Linked DNA regions of Homo sapiens: region 2 is linked to region 1. Evidence: promoter capture Hi-C in 16 types of primary human blood cells and fetal thymus (Javierre and others, 2016). All regions are on one chromosome and are shown on one strand. The core of a region is centred on a gene start or on the middle of the fragment in contact, and the rest is flanking DNA. Distances in the headings are between cores, read along the strand shown.

What was found. The method cuts DNA at HindIII sites, captures the fragments that hold promoters and counts their contacts. A CHiCAGO score of 5 or more calls a contact.
Region 2: the fragment with the promoter of JMY here is called in contact with the fragment with the promoter of ZFYVE16 in region 1 in 1 of 17 cell types (fetal thymus); the score reaches 5.8 in fetal thymus.

What each region holds. Positions count from the first base shown.
Region 1 is chr5:80,406,659-80,410,581 of GRCh38, reverse strand. ZFYVE16 (zinc finger FYVE-type containing 16) reads right to left here and starts at 2,518. Exons shown (of 19, transcript NM_001284236.3): 1 at 2,429-2,518. RefSeq lists a silencer at 1,918-2,037 and an enhancer at 1,758-2,556. The HindIII fragment of the contact is 4,043 bases long and covers 1,342-3,923 here.
Region 2 is chr5:79,233,730-79,237,663 of GRCh38, reverse strand. It overlaps JMY (junction mediating and regulatory protein, p53 cofactor), which reads right to left and starts at 1,533. Exons shown (of 11, transcript NM_152405.5): 1 at 1-1,533. The coding sequence starts at 1,013. It overlaps LOC124901011 (a long non-coding RNA gene), which reads left to right and starts at 1,641. Exons shown (of 2, transcript XR_007058836.1): 1 at 1,641-1,853. RefSeq lists silencers at 4-298, 582-851, 1,022-1,461, 1,492-1,541, 1,582-1,631 and enhancers at 1-391, 443-1,079. The HindIII fragment of the contact is 5,598 bases long and covers 1-2,050 here.

The DNA.
Region 1 (3,923 bases), core at 1,269-3,768:
AACAAACAAAGTACAGCACGTTTCCTTACAATATATTTAAGAAGATAAAAATGTGTTAGAAAAACACTTGGATACTGGACTATAAACGAGCAAATAACATCAACAGACAACTAGTAAGATTATGAAAATTATTCAGTGCACTATCAAAGTAATGAGAATTAGAACATATACCATTTATTGCCTGCTAAATTGAAACAATTTTTTAAAATAATAAAAGTACTCGATGTTGGTAAGGGTGTGATTTTTTTTTTTAAAGCATGTCAGACACTGCTGACAGGAAACAAACTGGTACTATCTCCCATGAAAACAATGTGACAATATGTACCAATAGCCTGAGAAAGATTCCTAATATTTGATCTAACAATTATCTTTTTAGAAATTTTAGAAAAGAATCCATGTGTTAAAGCTCTCTTAAAATGTATCTGGCAGTTGTCTGGTTTTTACTGGACTCCCCCCAGCCCCCTCAAAAAGAAAATAATTCAAAACAACTAAAAACATGCAAAGATATTTCACCAAATCATTAGTTGAAACAATCTAAACACCAACATTAGTGCACAAAAGCAAATTATACAGGCATCAAAAGTAATGTGTTTAACAAACTTAAAAAAAAGCAAAACTCTATGACCTAGCAATTCTACTTACAGAAAAAACACTAGCACGCATACACCAGAAAACATCACAAAGAACTTTCACTGTTGCAAGGGTTGTAACAGTGTAAAATTTTAAACAACCTAACAGCCCACCAATCCAAAAATGGTTAAATCAGCTTTCTCAAACTGTGGTCTCAGGACCCCTGGATGTCCCCAGGAGCCTTTCAGCAGGCTTGTAAGATCCTCGCTTTTCCTGCTACGTATCTGTTCAAGGCTGGTGTTTTCTTCATATGCTTCAACCTAAACCAGATAGCACAACAGACTGAACAGAAGCAAACATGAAAATCCAGCTGTCTTCTATAATGCCAGACATTAAAGTGATTCGCAAAAATTTGAAACAATGCCACGCTCCTCTTCTAAGTTTTGTTTTAGAAAATGGTTACTTTTCACTAAAAAATTATTTAATACATGAGTCTGTGATTTTTAAATGAATAAAACATTTTCAATTTTCTGAGTTTTAATTTCCAAAATGGTAAATATACTGCAGCATTAGGAACCAAAAACTCTATTGGTCCTCAATAATTTTTAAGCGTAATTATCCCCAATCATAATGTTAAATGAACTGTAGCACTATTCTATCATGTAACATTATGATTGAGGATAATTAATGCGGATTTGGCTTTATCTGTAATATAACTGTTTCAAAAGATACTTTGCTCATGTATAATCAAGAAGTCATTTTTATGAAGCTTTTTAAAAACATGGGGAAATGCTTACAACGTAATTTAAATCAAGGAAAGCAGACAATCCAACGATATAAAATCTCATCTCAAGAAAATGCACAGGGGAAAAAAAGACTCAAAGGAAAAAAGTCAAAATATTATAAGTAATTGATTACTATTACATGGTGGAATTATGATTGATCATTTTTCCTTATTCTTTATTCTATTTTTTCAATTTTTGCCACTAAGCATGCGGTTTAATATCCAGGAGAGGAAAAAAAGGAAGAAATTAGGCGAAAAATTATATATAGTTCTACTGGATTAAACCATTAAACTCCCGCCAACTCAAGAGACGACAAGCTCAAGTGAATAAATGGAGGAATCTGATTGAATCAACAAAGTGCCTATTTTTTGAATTGAAAAGATTAACTTAATATCAAATGTATGGACTGGTTTTCATACAAGTCAAACTAATAAGAAAGAACATCCTTAGTCTGGAACATAATATTTGCAATCACGATAGTACAAATAAGAGTTAAAAATAAGGTCCTCTTTTGGAGTTCTCAAAAGTACCAAAGGAAAGGCAGCGGGAAAGACGGCCACTGCATCCTTCTGGTCTCTAACCAAGAGAAAATGCATGGGTGCGGGAATGGACAGTGCGAGAGCACCGGCGGCGATGAGACTCCTCTGCGGGGACCGAGCCTCTGCCACTCCTGAAGAACCACAGTCCCCTCCGCAGTCGCAGCCCCTCCCCAGGCGGGACGGCGGCGCCAGGGCGCTTCTCCCTCCGTCCGCTGGGGTCTCTCCCCCAGGAGCGCCGAACACTCCGGCGGCCCGGGAGCGGGGAACCGGGCAAACAGCCGCCGTGATTGCCCTCCCGGTCCAGTCCGGTCTGGCCCTTCAGGCTCCAGGAGGGGACATCAGATTGGAGGGCCAGGGTTCCCCGGCCAGCTCCGGGGGCTCGGAAAAGGAATCGGTCGGGGCCCAGGCTCTGTCCCCAGAGGAAGAGGGCCAGACCCAGCGCCCAGGTCGGCGGGTCCAGCGGTCACCCCGCCCCCCTGTGGGAACAGCAGGGCTGAGGGGAGGCCGAGACGACCGGTCACGGGGGGCTCTTACCTCCCTACAGCCCCTGCGGAGCTTTTTGGGAACTCGACACGACGTCGCGCTGAGGAGTGAAGAGCTACCCCGGCCGGGAGTCCTGGGAGTGCCAGATCCCGGCTCAGGGCTTCTTTCCCCGCCCCACCGGGCAGCGCAGAGAGCGCAGGCGCAGAGGACGCTTTCCTCTTCGGCTCACACGCCCCCTCCCTCGGCATCCGCGGCCGTCTCCAGGCCCGGGGCGCTTGCGCACTACGACGCAGGTTCCGAGCCAAGGGCACTAGATTTCTTACCGGAAGTGCCTGAGTGGGTTGTTGGGTGACGGGGACGCCTGATGATTCGACCTTAGGTCGGGACTCGGTTCTCCACTCGACTGCGGGATCGGGAGGCCACTCGCGTCAGTGTCTGACTTCCTTTACCCTTCGCTAACCTAGAGGCAGCTTCCCCGGCTCCAGCCTTAGCCCTTTGCTGAGCCTGCGCGGCGTTCCGGTCTCTACTGGACAGACCCGCCTTCCCGGCAGCGGGCTAGGCCTGCTCTCCGCGCTGCTGGCCCCTCGGAAAACATAACTTTTTGTTTACTTCAAACTGATTTTACAACACGCTGCCCCCCCGCCTCCCCCGCTTCCCCCGCTTCCCCTTCCTCCTCCCGGCAGCAATAAAAATGCTCCCAGCCAACGCCGAGCTCCAAGCCCCTCCAGCTGACTGGACATTCCCAGCCACACTTTCCTTCCCTTCGCTGCGTTAGTTCTGCATTTTTATTTTAAAGCAGCTGGTAGAACAGCTGTCTCCCTGTCTAAAAGCAAAAGCTGACTTATCTGATGTAGAAATAAAATGTCACTCACTTGATGTATATTTGCTTGTTGAGTTTTGCTATTTTTACCACAAGTTTCCTATAAATTTAAATGAGACCCGGCGCGGTGGCTCACGCCTGTCATCCCAGCACTTTGGGAGGCCGAGGCGGGAGGATCGCTTGAAGTCAAGAGTTCCAGACAGGCCTGGGCAACATAGCAAGACCCTGTCTCTACTAAAAATGAAAATGAAAAAATTAGCCAGGCGTGTTGGCGCGTGCCTGTAGTCCCAGCTACTGGCTGGGAGTCTGAAGTGGGAGGATCACTTAAGCCCAGGAGGTCAAGGCTGCAGTGAGCTCTGATGGCAACACTGCATTCCAGCCTGAGCAACAGAACCAGACCGTGTCTCTAAAAAAATAAAAAATAAAAACAAGGGAAGAGACATACATGTGGGATCAGATACAGACAGATACAGGGAAAAAGCAGTTCCTCAAAGGTTAAACAGCTCACAGTTCATACTGATCTTTCAAAAATCGCAAGAATTGGCCGGGCGCAGTGGCTCACGCCTGTAACCCCAGCACTTTGGGAGGCCGAGGCAGGCGGATCACCTGAAGTCAGGAGTTCGAGACCAATCTGGCCAACATGGTGAAACTCCGTCTCTACTAAAAATACAAAAATTAGCTGGGTGTGGTGGCGGGCGCCTGTAATCCCAGCTACTTGGGAGGCTG
Region 2 (3,934 bases), core at 284-2,783, 1.2 Mb after region 1:
GCCCGCTGAAGCACTTCTTCGTAGCCCTTCTGCCGCAGCTCGCTGAGGCTTTCGTAATACTCCTCGGGATCATCGGTCTCGGTGAAGAGCACCTGGGAGAGGATCTTCCAGCCGCAGGTGTCCAGGCCGTGGCCCAGGTAGACCTGGAGCTGGTAACACAGAGTGTCGATTTCCTGCTCGGTCATCTCGGGGGCGCCCCCAAACAGCACAGTCCACATGCCCGAAGGTTCCTCGGGGAACACCGGCAGGCACGGCTCCAACTGCGAGTTCACCGAGCACAGCTGCTGGTGCACGGCGCGCAGGTCCTGGAAAGAAAACAGTCCGGCCCAGCTGCACTCTTCGGCCGGAGACTCCAGCTCGGTGGCGGGCGGCGGCTGCTCCGCGTCCGAGAGCGCCAGAGGTGCCTCGTCCTCCTTCACCATTTCCAGCACCTCTATCTCCTCGGAGACCGTCCCAGAGGCGCTCACTATCCGTACAGAGGACACCTGGGCCTCTCTGGGCGCCGGCCGGGCTGCTGCAGCGGCTGCCCCCGCCGCATCGTCGGCTTCAGATGTTTTCTGACCCGGGATGGGTTTGGCCCGCACTGGGCTCCTAAGACGACTCTCCGCCCCTTTGCTGCCAGGACTCCGCAGCCGCGGGTCCCCCAGAAGGCTGCGAGTGCTCCGAGGAGAGCCGCCCTCCGCCCAGGCCGAGCTCCGCCGGGGCCCGGGGCTCCTAACCAGAGTTGCAGAGGCAGTGGCCTCGGGCCGACCCCTGCCCGCCGGGCTGCCGGGCCCGCGGCTCCCGTCGGACGCAGCTCCGCCGGCCTCGGCGCCCCCTCGCGCCCCCGCTTGCTCCCGGGAGCCGCTCCTCTGCCTCTGGGCCGTCCGGTTGTGGCAGGTTATGGCAAACTTGCCCTCAATCTCGTTCCAGGCCACAATAAAGACGAATTTGTGTTTCTCGCGCTCGTCGAACACATGGGGCCGCACAGCCACCCAGTCCGACTCGAGCGTCTCCTCCAGCGCGAACGACATGGTGGCTCCGGCTTCTCGCCGCGGGGAAGGGCCGCCGGCCCGGCCCGCCCGAGGACTCCCCGCTGGCTGCGCCGCGCCCCCCGCTCACCCTCGCCGGGCGCCTTCAGCCATCTTAGTGCGCCGGCCGGCTCTCCCGGCTCGTTCGCCTGTCCCTCCGCGCCCCGACCGCCGAGCTCCTTTGTGGCGCGGATCGAGAGAAGGACAATAAGCGTCCCGGGAGCAGGTAGTTCACATGGTCACCTGCGGCCGGATCTGTTTACAAGCTCCGCGCTGCCGCAGCGCCTCGCGGCCGCCCGCCGCCCCCCGCGCGAGGCCGTGGAGCTGCGTCTGCGGCGCTCCGGTGGTGAGGCGCGGGTCCCGCGGGGTCAGGCCGGCGCTGTATGCGTCCCGGTCGCTCGCCCAGGTCAAGATCCCCGCCCCCGCCCCTGGTGCTGCTGCAGAAAGCCCGGAGCCGGCCTGACTGATGAACCCGTCTCCTAAACTCTGCGCCTCAGCATCGCCACAATGTTGCCATTCGACTGCTGACGTCGGCGGCTCCACGAGGGACGTAAACATGGGCACGTGCCGCACGCTGGTGACGCGGCGGCGGCGGCGCGCGCACCCCGCCCGCGCGCGCCGGCGCCTCCTCTCGGCGTCCCCTGAGCCAGCCCGCGAGCGGCCGCGCTCCCGACTCTCCTTCCTTCCGCGCAGCCTCCAGTTCCCCGGGGCTGGAGCCGGCTGTCGGCTGGTTGCCGGCTCCGAGGGCGATGAGAGTGGCAGGTGTGCCCTGCTGCACAGGTGGCCTCCGAACCCGGGAAAAGAGGAACTAAGGCGGAGGAACTGAGACGTTTCGAATTCCAGGTATTGAGACCCTCGAATGTACATTTGCCTCCATTCTCCTGGAGGGAGCCCGGACGGAGAGTCGCTCCTGCGTTCAGAAGTAGCGTGTTGCCGCGGGGAACGGTGTGCTGAACTATGTGGGGCTCGCCCCCAGCCTGTTAGGTTCTCCCCTAATGCCCTTGAGACCAAAACAAAAAACAAAAACAATTCCAGAAGCTTTTCTGGAAAGACAGAGTTTAATATATGAAAGGAAGGTGTCTGAGGAAAGCCCAGTAACAGTCCAAAACAAAATGAAAAATGAAAATGCCATGTCCTAACAGCATGAATGTTTACATTTCAGTTCATTGGTGTTTTATTGCTTCAGGTTTCATCATTATGTACTGTTCTGTGAACCTCGTTTTGAGGTCACTGGGCTTTAGCCCTTTTGAAGTTGTATTCAATTATGGGAGTTCCCAGAATGCATATACAAAAACAGTCATATCAATCTCTGCTATTCTTACTAAACTATGATGAAACACATTCTTAAAATTAGTAGACTTTATAATAATTATTGGCATTCTTTTTCCGATTAGTATTCAAGTCACAGATGTTGTGCACCATAGTAAAGCACAATGGAAATTAGTTCTTTTACATTTATTCACATTTCTAAAGTATATACAAAACCGTTTGGATTAGCCTTGTATTGTTAGGTTCAGTAAAAACAGCTGTTTATTCAGATGACAGAACAGTACTGAACTAGCTAAGCTTCAAACTTAGTTCAGTATTGTCCATCTTAAACTCTAAGCTTCAACACTTGGTTCAGTATTGTCCTGATATTTGAATAAACAGCCAAAAAAAATTTTTTTTTTGAGACAGAGTCTCACTCTGTGGCCCAGGCTGGAGCACAGTGGCACGATGTCAGCTTACTGCAGCCTCTGCCTCCCGGGTTCAAGCGATTCTCCTGCCTCAGCCTCCCAAGTAGCTGGGATTACAGGCACACACCACCAAGCCCGACTAATTTTTGTATTTTTATTAGAGACGGGGTTTCTTCATGTTGGCCAAGCTGGTCTCGAACTTCTGGCCTCAGGTGATCCGACCGCCTTGGCCTCTCAAAGTGCTGGGATTACAGTCGTGAGCCACTGAGCCCAGCTGGTTTTTAACATTTTGTACAGTTCATTATTTGAAACCACAAATTTTCAAAGTTTGTAACTGAGTTTGTGTCAAATCTCAAATGCAAGTCAGAGACACGTTCTGAAAGGCAAAAAAGAGAGAAAACCCATTTCAAATCTGAATTACGGGGCTGGGCATGGTGGCTGACGCCTGTAATCCCAGCACTTTGGGAGGCTGAGGTGGGCAGATCACTTGAGGTCAGGAGTTCAAGACCAGCCTGGACAACATGGTGAAACCCCGTCTCTATAAAAAATACAAAATTAGTCGGGTGTGGTGGCACGTGCCTGTAATCCCAGCTACTTGGGAGGCTGAGGCAGGAGAATTGCTTGAACCCGGGAGGCGAAGGTTGCAGTGATCTGAGATCATGCCACCGCACTCCAGCCTGGGGGACAGAGACTCCACCTCAAAAAAGAAAAAAGAAAAAAGGTTTGAATTACCAGCTAAGCAAACAATAGCACATTGTAGAAAACTTTCTCTTCTTTTTTGCTAAAAAGCAACTGCAAAAAGCTAGTTTTTCTGATAAAGCATTACTGACATGATCCCATTATGTATAATTGTGAATACAGAGAATGAGTATTAAAAGAATTTGTTTACAAGTTCTCTTCAGAGTAGAGGACAAGAAAAAGAAAAAAATTATTATTTAAAAAAATAGTCCGGGTGCGGTGGCTCACGCCTGTAATCCCAGCACTTTGGGAGGCTAAGGTGGGCAGATCGCAAAGTCAGAAGTTCGAGACTAGCCTGGCTAACATGGTGAAACCCCGTCTCTACCAAAAATCCAAAAATTAGCTGGGCGTTGTGGCAGGTGCCTGTAATCCCAGCTACTCGGGAGGCTGAGGCAGGAGAATCGTTTGAACCCGGGAGGCAGAGGTTGCAGTGAGCTGAGATCGTGCCATTGCACTCCAGTGCCTGGGCAACAAGAGCGAAACTCCGTCTGAAAAAAATAAAAAATAATA